Regions from separate parts of the Homo sapiens genome. Here region 2 is linked to region 1. The links are contacts of gene promoters, found by promoter capture Hi-C in blood cells and fetal thymus (Javierre and others, 2016). All regions are on one chromosome and are shown on one strand. The core of a region is centred on a gene start or on the middle of the fragment in contact, and the rest is flanking DNA. Distances in the headings are between cores, read along the strand shown.

Region 1 (5,804 bases), core at 449-2,948:
TTCTCAGTCATTTTACTTAGTCATTGGTTCTTTCCCTATCACCATTCTTTATGTCCCCCTCAAAGAAAAACATTATCTTCCATTTCCTTATCAACTCCAAACAGCTTTCATTTTTCTGACATATTTACTACCTAAGAAAATGGCTCAAGAATTGGGTCAGACTATCTTGTCCTAACTTTTCTGATAAGTTTCAGAGAAACTCAAAGGTCAAAACAAGAGCATAAGAGTAAAAGGTAGAGAAATTAAGAAACTGAAGACTAGGAAATGGGGGTTGGATGGGAAAGAAAAAGAAATTGTTATTAATGCTACCCGGTTCCCTTCCCTGTCCAGGTGGATTTCAGCTCTGTTGAGGCTCTGTCAGTAGATTTTCAGCCCTAACCAGCACTTCCATGGTGGTGGCACTTCCACTGCCTTTAAAAGAAAGAGCTTTTTTTAATTCTACAGGGATTTGGGGGATGAGGAGTCAGAGCTAAGGTATCCTAAAAAAAACATGTGAAGACTCTCATTTTGCAATACACAAGCAATTGCCCTCCTGTTAAGACTTTGTCTTCCTCAGCACTCCGAACCAAAATGATTCTGTAAACAAAAATTGTTCACTTTTAGGAGAGGTCCACTTATGCAGTTCCTCACCAAAGTTTTTAGGCAACAAATCCATAACTTGCGGTTCTCTTCCTATCCAATGTAGCATCCGCTGAAATGTTTTAAATATTTTAAGTAATAAATGTTGATTCAAACTCACCTAGGAAGATTAGGAAGGGGAAAAAAAGCACTTGGCATTTAAATCTTCAGAAGAGAATTTAATGACAGGTTCAGCCTGTTTAATGACAAGCCCAGCACCACACCCCTCTCTTATGATGTTTCATTATTACTGCATAAATTTCCTTTATTACTCATGATAAATAAAAATAAGATACCTGACAAAGTGGGTTTAAATAGGTAAGAGTGCAAACAAAGATTTACTGTACAAATATGATGAAACTGGGATCTCAGATTCTTAAAGTATAATTTTTTTTTGTCTTATGTGTGCCAGGTTGCCACTCTCAATCTCGAACTAGTTTTTTTCTCTTTTAAGGGTTGTATCCATAATGCAAAAATGGAAAGAATTAAAAAGCACACGCAAAACATGATTCTCGGGATTTTTCTCTATTTTTATGGTTGACTAATTCAAACAGAAAGACACATCCAAGAGAAAATTGCTAAGTTTGATACAAGTTATGAAACTTGTGAAGCCCAAGTACTGCCTGGGGATGAATTTAACTTGTATGACAGGTGCAGAGCTGTCGCTTTCAGACATCTTAAGAAACACGGAGTTATTTTGAATGACTTTCTCTCGGTCACAAGGGAGCCACCAACGTCTCCACAGTGAAACCAACTGGCTGGCTGAAGGAACAGAAATCCTCTGCTCCGCCTACTGGGGATTAGGAGCTGAGGGCAGTGGTGAACATTCCCAAAATATTAGCCTTGGCTTTACTGGACATCCAGCGAGCAGTGCAGCCAGCATTCCTGGCGGCTCCCTGGCCCAGTCTCTGGCGCATGCGTCCTAGCATCTTTGGGCAGGCTTCCCCGCCCTCGTGACGCGTCGGCCCGGGCCTGGCCTCCCGGCGATCACAGCGGACAGGGGGCGGAGCCTAAGGGGGTGGGGAGACGCCGGCCCCTTGGCCCAGCTGAAAACGGAATTCTTTGCCGGCTGGCTCCCCACTCTGCCAGAGCGAGGCGGGGCAGTGAGGACTCCGCGACGCGTCCGCACCCTGCGGCCAGAGCGGCTTTGAGCTCGGCTGCGTCCGCGCTAGGCGCTTTTTCCCAGAAGCAATCCAGGCGCGCCCGCTGGTTCTTGAGCGCCAGGAAAAGCCCGGAGCTAACGACCGGCCGCTCGGCCACTGCACGGGGCCCCAAGCCGCAGAAGGACGACGGGAGGGTAATGAAGCTGAGCCCAGGTCTCCTAGGAAGGAGAGAGTGCGCCGGAGCAGCGTGGGAAAGAAGGGAAGAGTGTCGTTAAGTTTACGGCCAACGGTGGATTATCCGGGCCGCTGCGCGTCTGGGGGCTGCGGAATGCGCGAGGAGAACAAGGGCATGCCCAGTGGGGGCGGCAGCGATGAGGGTCTGGCCAGCGCCGCGGCGCGGGGACTAGTGGAGAAGGTGCGACAGCTCCTGGAAGCCGGCGCGGATCCCAACGGAGTCAACCGTTTCGGGAGGCGCGCGATCCAGGTAGCTGGGGCCCCAGGGCCTCGCCGGCAGGGGGCGCGCGAACGCGGGGCGCGGCCTCGGCGGATCGGGGCTGGAACCTAGATCGCCGATGTAGATTTGTACAGGAGTCTCCGTTGGCCGGAGGTGTGCATTCCACGCGTAAAACAGGCTTTTACCCAGCAAAAATCCTAAAGAGAGACATTGAAAAACCCACTGTTTAAGCTTTTTTTAGTGGTTTTTGTTCTGCCATCTCATGATCAGAGATGCAAGGAATAGACTGAATTGGGGAGAAAAGGAGAAAAGGAAAGCTTATTTAGGGAAGAAGATTATCTTGTCTGTCTGCTTTCAACGATAAAGATAAGTAAAGTATAAGTTACGCATTCTAGATTGGATTTAAGGAATTCTACAAAATCATAGTACATGGAAAAAATCAATGTAAACTTCTAAGCTACTATATGAAATCTGTTGTATTGTTTTCTCATAGAGGTTAATTGAGAATGAGACGGGATTCCTCAACCACAGTACTTAGTTCCTTTTATGTTAGCAGTGTCTTATGAGTGATGCATAAGAGAAAAAATATATAGTTCTATAGGTTTCTCATTCTTTAATTATCATACTCAGTGCCCAGATTACAAAAATATTCCTGCAGCAACTGTTAGGTCCTTTTTGAATGGCAAAGGATCTTCATAAATAATGCATCTTTATCTTCATTGTTAAAATACACTTATTCAATGTTTAAGTACGAATCCTGCTTTAATTAGTACTGATATTTTTTATTTCTTTTACAATCTCGGACAACTCTTTTGTACTTTACCGTTGGCTAGTGGTCATATTCAGTACTCACCTCACTATCACCCTCTAAAACTAAGCTAATATTAAGGGATCTTGTTAATAGTATAGATTTTAAAGAAGTGTTCATTTCTTTTGAATTCTTAGAATAATGGTATAACAAATGAGGGATTTTTAAAGGAGCAAAAATATTGTAAAGTGCATCTTAAAAACTTAAAATTTTATTAATAATTATAAAAACAAGTTATATATGTAATTCACCATTTTCTGAAATACTAACAGCAGCTATTTTCCCCTTTTTTTCTATGTAAAATATCCTTACATCACTAGTAGATATAACTTATCACGGTTTTTAAGAGATGAAATGAACATTTCTAATATTAATGAAACAAGCCAACAAAACATGAGAAGTATACTGCCTTTCAATTAAATGGTATATTTTAAAGTGCATAAACCCATAACAAATAACTCGATTTTAGACATTTAGTTACCAAAAATTGTCTTATAATTGACTTTAAATATGACAGCAAATGTTTTCATAATGTTCATGTACACAAATGGCTGCTACAGGATTACTCCTGCAAAACATCATTTTTTCTAAGTTATGCATCATCCTGATTGACTGCTAACATCCAAGCTCTATTTATTTATTTATTTATTTTATTTTTTTTGAGATGAGGCCTCACTCTGTCGGACAGGCTGGAGTGCAGTGGCACAATCTCAGCTCACTGCAACCTCTTCCAGGATGCAAGCGATTCTCCTGCCTCAGCCTCCTGAGTTGCTGGGACTACAGGCACGCCCCACCATGCCCAGCTAATTTTTTATTTTTTGTAGTAGAGACGGGATTTCACCATGTTGGCCAGGCTGGTCTCGAACTCCTGACCTCAGGTGATCTGCCTGCTATGGCCTCCCAAAGTGCTGGGATTACAGGCATAAGCCACTGGGCCTGGCCCAAGCTCTTTTTATATAGCAAAATATTTACTGTTTAACATTTTTAAATCTTAGCTATTATAAAATCCTGTAGTATACAAATATAGTTAGTTTTATATTACATTAAAAATATTATAGTCTAAATTTAAAATGATGAACTGTTAAGGAAAAATCATTTATTATAATTTTATAAGATTTTGCATGATTTAATTTACTTTTCCCTTCTAATCTCCAACTTTGGCTCAAATTATCACACTACAAGCCAGTTATGAGCTCAGACACATGACAAACAAAAGCCTTCCGCACGGGATTTGCTATGAGAACTAAATAAATTAAAAAAAAAAGAAAGAAAAAAACTTAGTTGTTTATTTTCTCCCCTAAACCATTACTCCCAACTTCTAACAAACAGTAGTTGACTACCTAATAAATATTTGTAGACCTGGATTATGGAGGAGGGGTCAGCAAGGCAAATAATTTAAAACTTTAAAAGCCGAATAAATTTAACTCTGCCCCTAAATCATTTAACAAAATAGATTCCCATGTTCCAATGGAAATCAAGATTTGTTTTTCCATAATGATGATCATCACTTTACCATCAACTTTCTTGTCTCTGCACGTTTAGAGAATAAAATGGCATTTAATTTGTACTGAGTATAACCTGAAGGTGGGGTGGGAAAGTGGATTGCATCAGCAAATGAAGAAACACCAGACATCAGAGACCTGAACACCTCTGCACTGGGTGAAAACTTTGCAATTAGGTGTTTCTTTAAATGGCTCCACCTGCCTTGCCCCGGCCGGCATCTCCCATACCTGCCCCCACCCTGGCTCTGACCACTCTGCTCTCTCTGGCAGGTCATGATGATGGGCAGCGCCCGCGTGGCGGAGCTGCTGCTGCTCCACGGCGCGGAGCCCAACTGCGCAGACCCTGCCACTCTCACCCGACCGGTGCATGATGCTGCCCGGGAGGGCTTCCTGGACACGCTGGTGGTGCTGCACCGGGCCGGGGCGCGGCTGGACGTGCGCGATGCCTGGGGTCGTCTGCCCGTGGACTTGGCCGAGGAGCGGGGCCACCGCGACGTTGCAGGGTACCTGCGCACAGCCACGGGGGACTGACGCCAGGTTCCCCAGCCGCCCACAACGACTTTATTTTCTTACCCAATTTCCCACCCCCACCCACCTAATTCGATGAAGGCTGCCAACGGGGAGCGGCGGAAAGCCTGTAAGCCTGCAAGCCTGTCTGAGACTCACAGGAAGGAGGAGCCGACCGGGAATAACCTTCCATACATTTTTTTCTTTGTCTTATCTGGCCCTCGACACTCACCATGAAGCGAAACACAGAGAAGCGGATTTCCAGGGATATTTAGGAGTGTGTGACATTCCAGGGGTCGTTTGCTTTTCAGGGTTTTCTGAGGGAAAGTGCATATGAAATCCTTGACTGGACCTGGTGGCTACGAATCTTCCGATGGATGAATCTCCCACTCCAGCGCTGAGTGGGAGAAGGCAGTGATTAGCACTTGGGTGACGGCAGTCGATGCGTTCACTCCAATGTCTGCTGAGGAGTTATGGTGAACCCACAACTTAGGCCCTAGCGGCAGAAAGGAAAACCTGAAGACTGAGGACAAAGTGGAGGAGGGCCGAGGTGGGCTTCAGTAAGTCCCCGGCGGCGCTTTAGTTTGAGCGCATGGCAAGTCACATGCGTAAACGACACTCTCTGGAAGCCCTGGAGACCCTCGCCCAACTCCACCAGATAGCAGAGGGGTAAGAGAGGATGTGCAAGCGACGACAGATGCTAAAATCCCTGGATCACGACGCTGCAGAGCACCTTTGCACAGGATGCTGGCCTTTGCTCTTACTACACTGAGGAGAGATTCCCGCGGGTTCCGCAGGCAGACTACACAGGA
Region 2 (5,679 bases), core at 3,152-5,651, 100 kb before region 1:
GGCAGCAAGGTCCGAGGAGAGCGGCAGGGGCCACAGCAAGTGCGGACCTCAGCAGGGGATAGCAAGAGTTTGCTCAAGCTGAGTCAGCCCCCTGTTTTTTCCTATTTAAATGATTCACTTGCTAAGGCAAACCAGTCCGAGATGTATGAATCCTCCTCTCCTCTCCCACGAGCTTCCAAATGAGTTGCTGCTTTTTGTTTTTGTTTTTCCTATTTTCCTTCTCCTTCCTTGGAAACATGATTTCAGGGTTTTCAATTTCAGGTTAAGATTCCCCCCCAACCCTTCATTTAAGTGCCCTGGGAGGAGGGGTTGTCATATCAAAGAAACACTATGCTGATATTCTTTACTTTGAATCTATTTAAATGGCCATGTTAAATAGTTGTTTATATTCCTTAAGCTTCCTTATTGATTTTGCACACAAGTAGGTTAAATTAAAAATAAACAAAATTTCATAGCATATAATAAACTGAGAAGTCTGAGCTCTTTAGAAATTAAGCTCTAAATATGTGAATTTTCTATATCTTAAAAGGTTTATTATAGTAAACACCCAAGACATTTTCCAAGTCTTTTGAATGGGAATTTCTTCTGCATGCATAAGATGCATAACATTTTTCTTCATAATAAAATAACAGCTTTTTGTTCATTATTAGAAGTCATTCCCCTTACATTCTTTCAACACTCCCAGCTTCCATTTGATCTTCCTCCCATATTTATGTGAGGTCAAGTTTACTTGAGGCCTTTCTTCCATGTTCTGCTTAATCTTCATGTACATCTGTAGTCATAATATTCCTTTTAGCCAAGTTATTCAGGAAGAATGGTTTTACTATTTGGTTACATCTGGACAGTTATGACATTCTCCAGTTTAAAACTCCCCAGTAACATCTCACTGTCATTAGAATGGTAACCAAATGTCTTTCCATGACCTATAGGACCTTTTATGGCCTCAGCACTGCCTATTTCTCCAATCAGCCTCCCTTTCATCCCCTGTGGTCCCACATTGGCTTTGTCTCTGTCCCTCCAATGGGCCAAGTTGTCTCAAGTTCTCTGTATTTGCCATTGCTGTTTCCCTCATTTTCATCTCACTGTCTCCTTCTCCTCATTTAGGTCTTGGGTCAAATGTCACCTCCTCAGAGAGGCTATCCCTGTCTTCCACATCAAGCAGGCTATATTTTCCTTCCTGCTCGATTTTCATCCCAGTAGTTATAGCACTATCTGAATACTTTTATTTGTTTTCTTATTTACTAGTTTGTATGTACATTCATACTCTGTTGGGTCTGTTATGCATTGTGAGGGAAAGGCTTTATCTGTTAATTAATGTATCACAGTTTCCAGAACAGTTGTGGCACATAAGACCATTCAGTAAATACTAGTTGAAGAAATAAACCCTGGCTCATCTCCATACCTACTCAAACTTATATCCGTTTGATATACACCGTTTGAGTATATCAAACAGATATACATATCATGGGGAGTACAGACTACCTTGTGTCTCATCACACATTGCATAATCTAGTCCAAATTATCAATTATAAAAGTATCCTCAGATGTTTGTCAAAACAGTAAGAAGTTGATCATGTCCAATGTCATTTGATCCAATTTTGGAAAGAGATAAAGAAGCTAAGAGAATGTTGAGCATACACTCTAATTTATTGGGCAGCTCTTTTCATACTTTTTCAACAAGACATAACTAATAGCTGAAAATAGTAAATAATCATGCTTAGCTGAAGGGATCCGAACAGGAGTAAAAAATGGTCCCAAGGGCTAAGTATCTTTGAGTTCTCATGATTCACTTATAAAATTCAGATGAATATGAATTTTTCATCCTAATTCATTACATATCTCAGTTTTATTTAATATAAAAGAAAATTTCCCCAAATTGTTACATATAAAATATGTCCTCCAGCACAATATGCCCTGTTTACCCTAGAAAACCACCAATAATCCCCAAGTCCATGTGATCCAAGCTGATAATCACATAGAAATGATTCTGGAAGAACCTTAATGGGAGCACAGGTCCCACCCACCCCTTGCTACCCCATGTACTTGTTCCCATCTTCACCCAAGAGAGGAAACACTCTGGAACTAGGGCAGCTTAAGTGAAGCAGAGTGAAAAGGAATGTGAAGTTTTGAGAAGAAAGAAAAGGCTAAAGTGTCTATCTTTCCACATTGCTTTTTTCAGGTTTCTCTTCGGAATCACTTCCCTGCTGTCTTTCTTTCCATGTACTTGGTGATGTAAAAGGTTTAAGTCTCCCTCGCTTCTGAGAGGGGAGACCCTGGAGTGATCATATATCGCAGTTTTCTCAGAACCATCCTAGTTTATGCATGCGTCCTGGCATAAGTGTTAGTACCCTGTTTTCATTTGTACAAAATATGCTCACTAAGGGACACCTTCCCCAGTCTTCCCTCCTTGAAAGTATAAGTAGAACCAAACTAAAGAGGTCATGCACAACATAATGTAAATCTTCTTCAGCCTAACTTTAAGCCACCAAGGAAGAGGAGTCCTTGTGACTCAGACACAAAAGCATTTGGAGTCCAAACATTGGTACATACTAATGAAGTTTCCTTTGTCTGACATAGCTCTACAGCTGGGAATCTATAATTACCATTTGGTGCTCATTGAAGATGGGGGGTTCAGGATTCAGGCCATCTTGCAAATACTACAATAACATTTCTAAGGAAAAGACAGAAGGGGCAACCAGGATAGTAAGGGAGAATTTGGTTAACTGAAAATCATCGGGCCATGAGTTAAAGTATTTTAAAATAAAGTATGATAAATGAAAGTATTTAGTCAGTAATGCAGCATAAATTTGAATGATTAGCTCTTTCAATGACATGGCTCTTGAAAGCAGGAAAGAAAAGACCATTATCTCATGAATTCACACACAAAAAATTGTTTGCTCTGATAGTAATTATGACAGCTATTGCAAGGAAAATAATAGACTGATGGTCTTAGCCGCTGCCTCTGAAATTCATCACCAAGTTTGTACTGAGTCCATGCTTTCTATGGCTGCTCCCAGCCAATTACTAAGCACAGCAGATGTACTAAAGCAAGTCCGTTCCTGAAAGATGCAGTACTCTTCTGGTGGGCAGCTTTGCCTTAAATACTCCTAATCAGCTTTGTCAAAACGTTCTTAGAATTGAAATCTTAAGGTTTTTCTTCTTTGCCTTCCTCTCCTTTCTCCTTCATGGGGATGAGTCTTACATAGTAGCCACACAGTCTGCCCAGGCTCCTCTATGTACCTCTCCATTTTCTCCCACAAGGTTTACCTCGGCGAATCTCTTGCACATCTAATTTCATCTTAACATCTTTCTCTCAGAGGACCTGAACTAACACAGTGATTCAAGTAGAGATATATTTAAGGGACAGGAAGAATCAGGACTTTTAATGTATTTAGGATGATTTGATCCAAGACCAAGAGGGAAAGTCACAGGTGATTGTAAGAGAAGTTTGACCAGGTATAAGAGGGAACTTTCTGAGAACAACTAGGTCATGACAGAAGTGGCTGTGACAGTGGGAGAGGAGGTTGGAGTAATCAAGGTCTGAAGTTGTTCATTTGCATACCTGATGCTACATAAGTTCCAAAGGCCAATTAGAGAATCTGAAAAGATTCCATTGTTTTTGGTACCATGTATATCAGTTGATATATGTGGTTGGATCCTTTTAAAAGGACTCGACGTATTTTCATTTGGACTCTATAGAGTCTTTTTAAGAGAATTTTACAAATTTTTATTTGGCCTTAGGGGCATGTGGCTTGCAATTTTTACATTTGTGATTACAAGGTCTTGCATAATTAGAAAAAGTAAAATAGAAAGTTGACTATTTGTATCAGATATTGAAATTTTCAGCCAATAGGAACACATTTATTATAAAAGCAATACTTACATTTTTATATTCCTTCACCATCTTCAAGTGTGTAGAGCTTCGTATCCCCAATGAGATACAGTAATGTTTGTATAACTGGAGTTACACATTGTTTGACATGCTATTGCATTTGATCTTACGTCTATGTTAAGATCCTGTGAGGCAAGCAGGGCAAAGAGCATTAAAACTCACTTTTGCAAATAGTGAGACTGAGGCTTGGGAGATTTAGCAAATATATACTAGAGTCCAAGCAAGAAACCAGGCTGCAGCAGGCAGAATTTCTAGGAATGACCCCGAAGATTTTATACCCTAGTCTCTGCAATGTGCGAATGTGATTGGCTATGTTATATAGCATAGTTGACCTTTAAGTAAAAGATTATCCAGACGGATGTAATCTAATCCCATAAACTCTTAAAAGCCTCTTCTGCTGGTGGCAGAAGAGAAAAGAAGTTACAGAGCTGTGACAGAAAGGGAAGTCAGAGATTTTCAAAGAATGAGAAGGATTTGACAGGCCATTGCTGGCCTGAAGATGGAGGGGATCATATGGATGGCTTGATAAGGAAATAAATTATGCCAGCAGCCTGAGAGTTTAAAAGGGACACAGGCTCCAGCTTGGGAGAACTGCAGCTCCCATTGATACTTTGATTTTGACCTGTGAGATTCTAAGCAGAGAACCCAGCCGAGCCACGCAGTGCCTGGAGGTCTGACACACAGGAACTGCGAGATAATACATGGGCGTTATTTCAAACCTCTAAGTTTGTGGTGACTTGTTATAATGCAATAGAAAACTAATACGTCAGTTTTCTCACTTCGTCACTATTTTTATCACATCACCCCTCCTCTTAACCAAACAGCAAGCAGTAAACTGAAGCACAGTACCAACCTTCTAGTTTTGCCGATGTGACTTTGTCTAGAATTTTAGCTTTCTTAGCACAATTTATTTTAGGCCTTACCTCATTTTCTTTTGTTCTGAACTTGTGGACTTTTACTCATTTTTTTAAGAAGACAGGGCTCTCATTTTCTCACATTGATTGCTTTTTGGAAAATATTTCAGGTAAATTATACATAGTTCAAGAAGAAATTATTATAAGATTAAATTTTGCTATAATAGTTTGGAAACACTTTAGAACTCTCTTTATAATATACTAAAAATGTCATGGGGATTATTTGAGCAATATAGTGAAGAATTATTGTTTTATCTGCCTATTCTACTACCTTCTATAAATTGCACTTCCTTTGTTTTGAGAATGGTCTTCTCCCAGTCAAACCAAGTGATTCCAAGAAAATATCCATGTTTTTATATAGTCAGCCACACATAATAGTGTATTGGTCCAGAGATGGGCAACATCTCCAATCTGAGACAATCAGACTTTTCCCAGGTAATTTTTGACTTTTCAACAGAAAAACCATAAGTTAATCTCTCACCAGTGGTGGATGTTGTAGAACGTAGAACTCGGGAAGTGCTAGCAGCAATGTTTCTTGCCATGTGAGAGAAGCCAATCTACAGTGAAAGAGAAGAAAGTCAAGCCAGGGAGAAAAGCCTGAGCAAGAGTTGGAGAGAGATCCCTCGCAGTGGTTTAACCCCTTGTTTTGGCTGTTCTAGAGTCCAGCTCTATGCTGTCCTTCAAAATGGTTTGATTGTTCAGTCCTTTCTGGAATTCCATTAACCAGTATGTTTCTTCTCTTACCTTGGTAGTTCAAGATGAGTTTCAGCCACTTACAACCAACAGAGATGTGACTCATACAAGAGAAAAATTTTACTTTGTTTTCCTTTGAAAATACTTACTGTGGTGGGAAAAACCTCTAGCCAAGAAACT

Evidence for each region. Contacts are between HindIII fragments. The CHiCAGO score rates a contact against its expected background, and 5 or more counts as called.
Region 2: a contact is called between a fragment that was not itself captured here and the fragment with the promoter of CDKN2B in region 1, in 4 of 17 cell types (M2 macrophages, endothelial precursors, M1 macrophages and 1 more). The highest score is 9.2, in M2 macrophages.

Annotation. Positions count from the first base shown.
Region 1 is chr9:22,005,199-22,011,002 of GRCh38, reverse strand. It overlaps CDKN2B (cyclin dependent kinase inhibitor 2B), which reads left to right and starts at 1,698. Exons shown (of 2, transcript NM_004936.4): 1 at 1,698-2,205; 2 at 4,756-5,804. The coding sequence starts at 2,050. The coding sequence ends at 5,016. All of the region lies in intron 1 of CDKN2B-AS1 (CDKN2B and CDKN2A antisense cis and trans regulatory RNA 1), which reads right to left. RefSeq lists silencers at 1-33, 2,157-2,356. The HindIII fragment of the contact is 2,577 bases long and covers 1-2,408 here.
Region 2 is chr9:22,112,004-22,117,682 of GRCh38, reverse strand. It overlaps CDKN2B-AS1 (CDKN2B and CDKN2A antisense cis and trans regulatory RNA 1), which reads right to left. Exons shown (of 19, transcript NR_003529.4): 15 at 5,288-5,363; 16 at 3,884-4,017. Among named protein-coding and RNA genes, the nearest start is that of CDKN2B, 110 kb to the right of the region's middle. RefSeq lists an enhancer at 1-371. The HindIII fragment of the contact is 8,003 bases long and covers 400-5,679 here.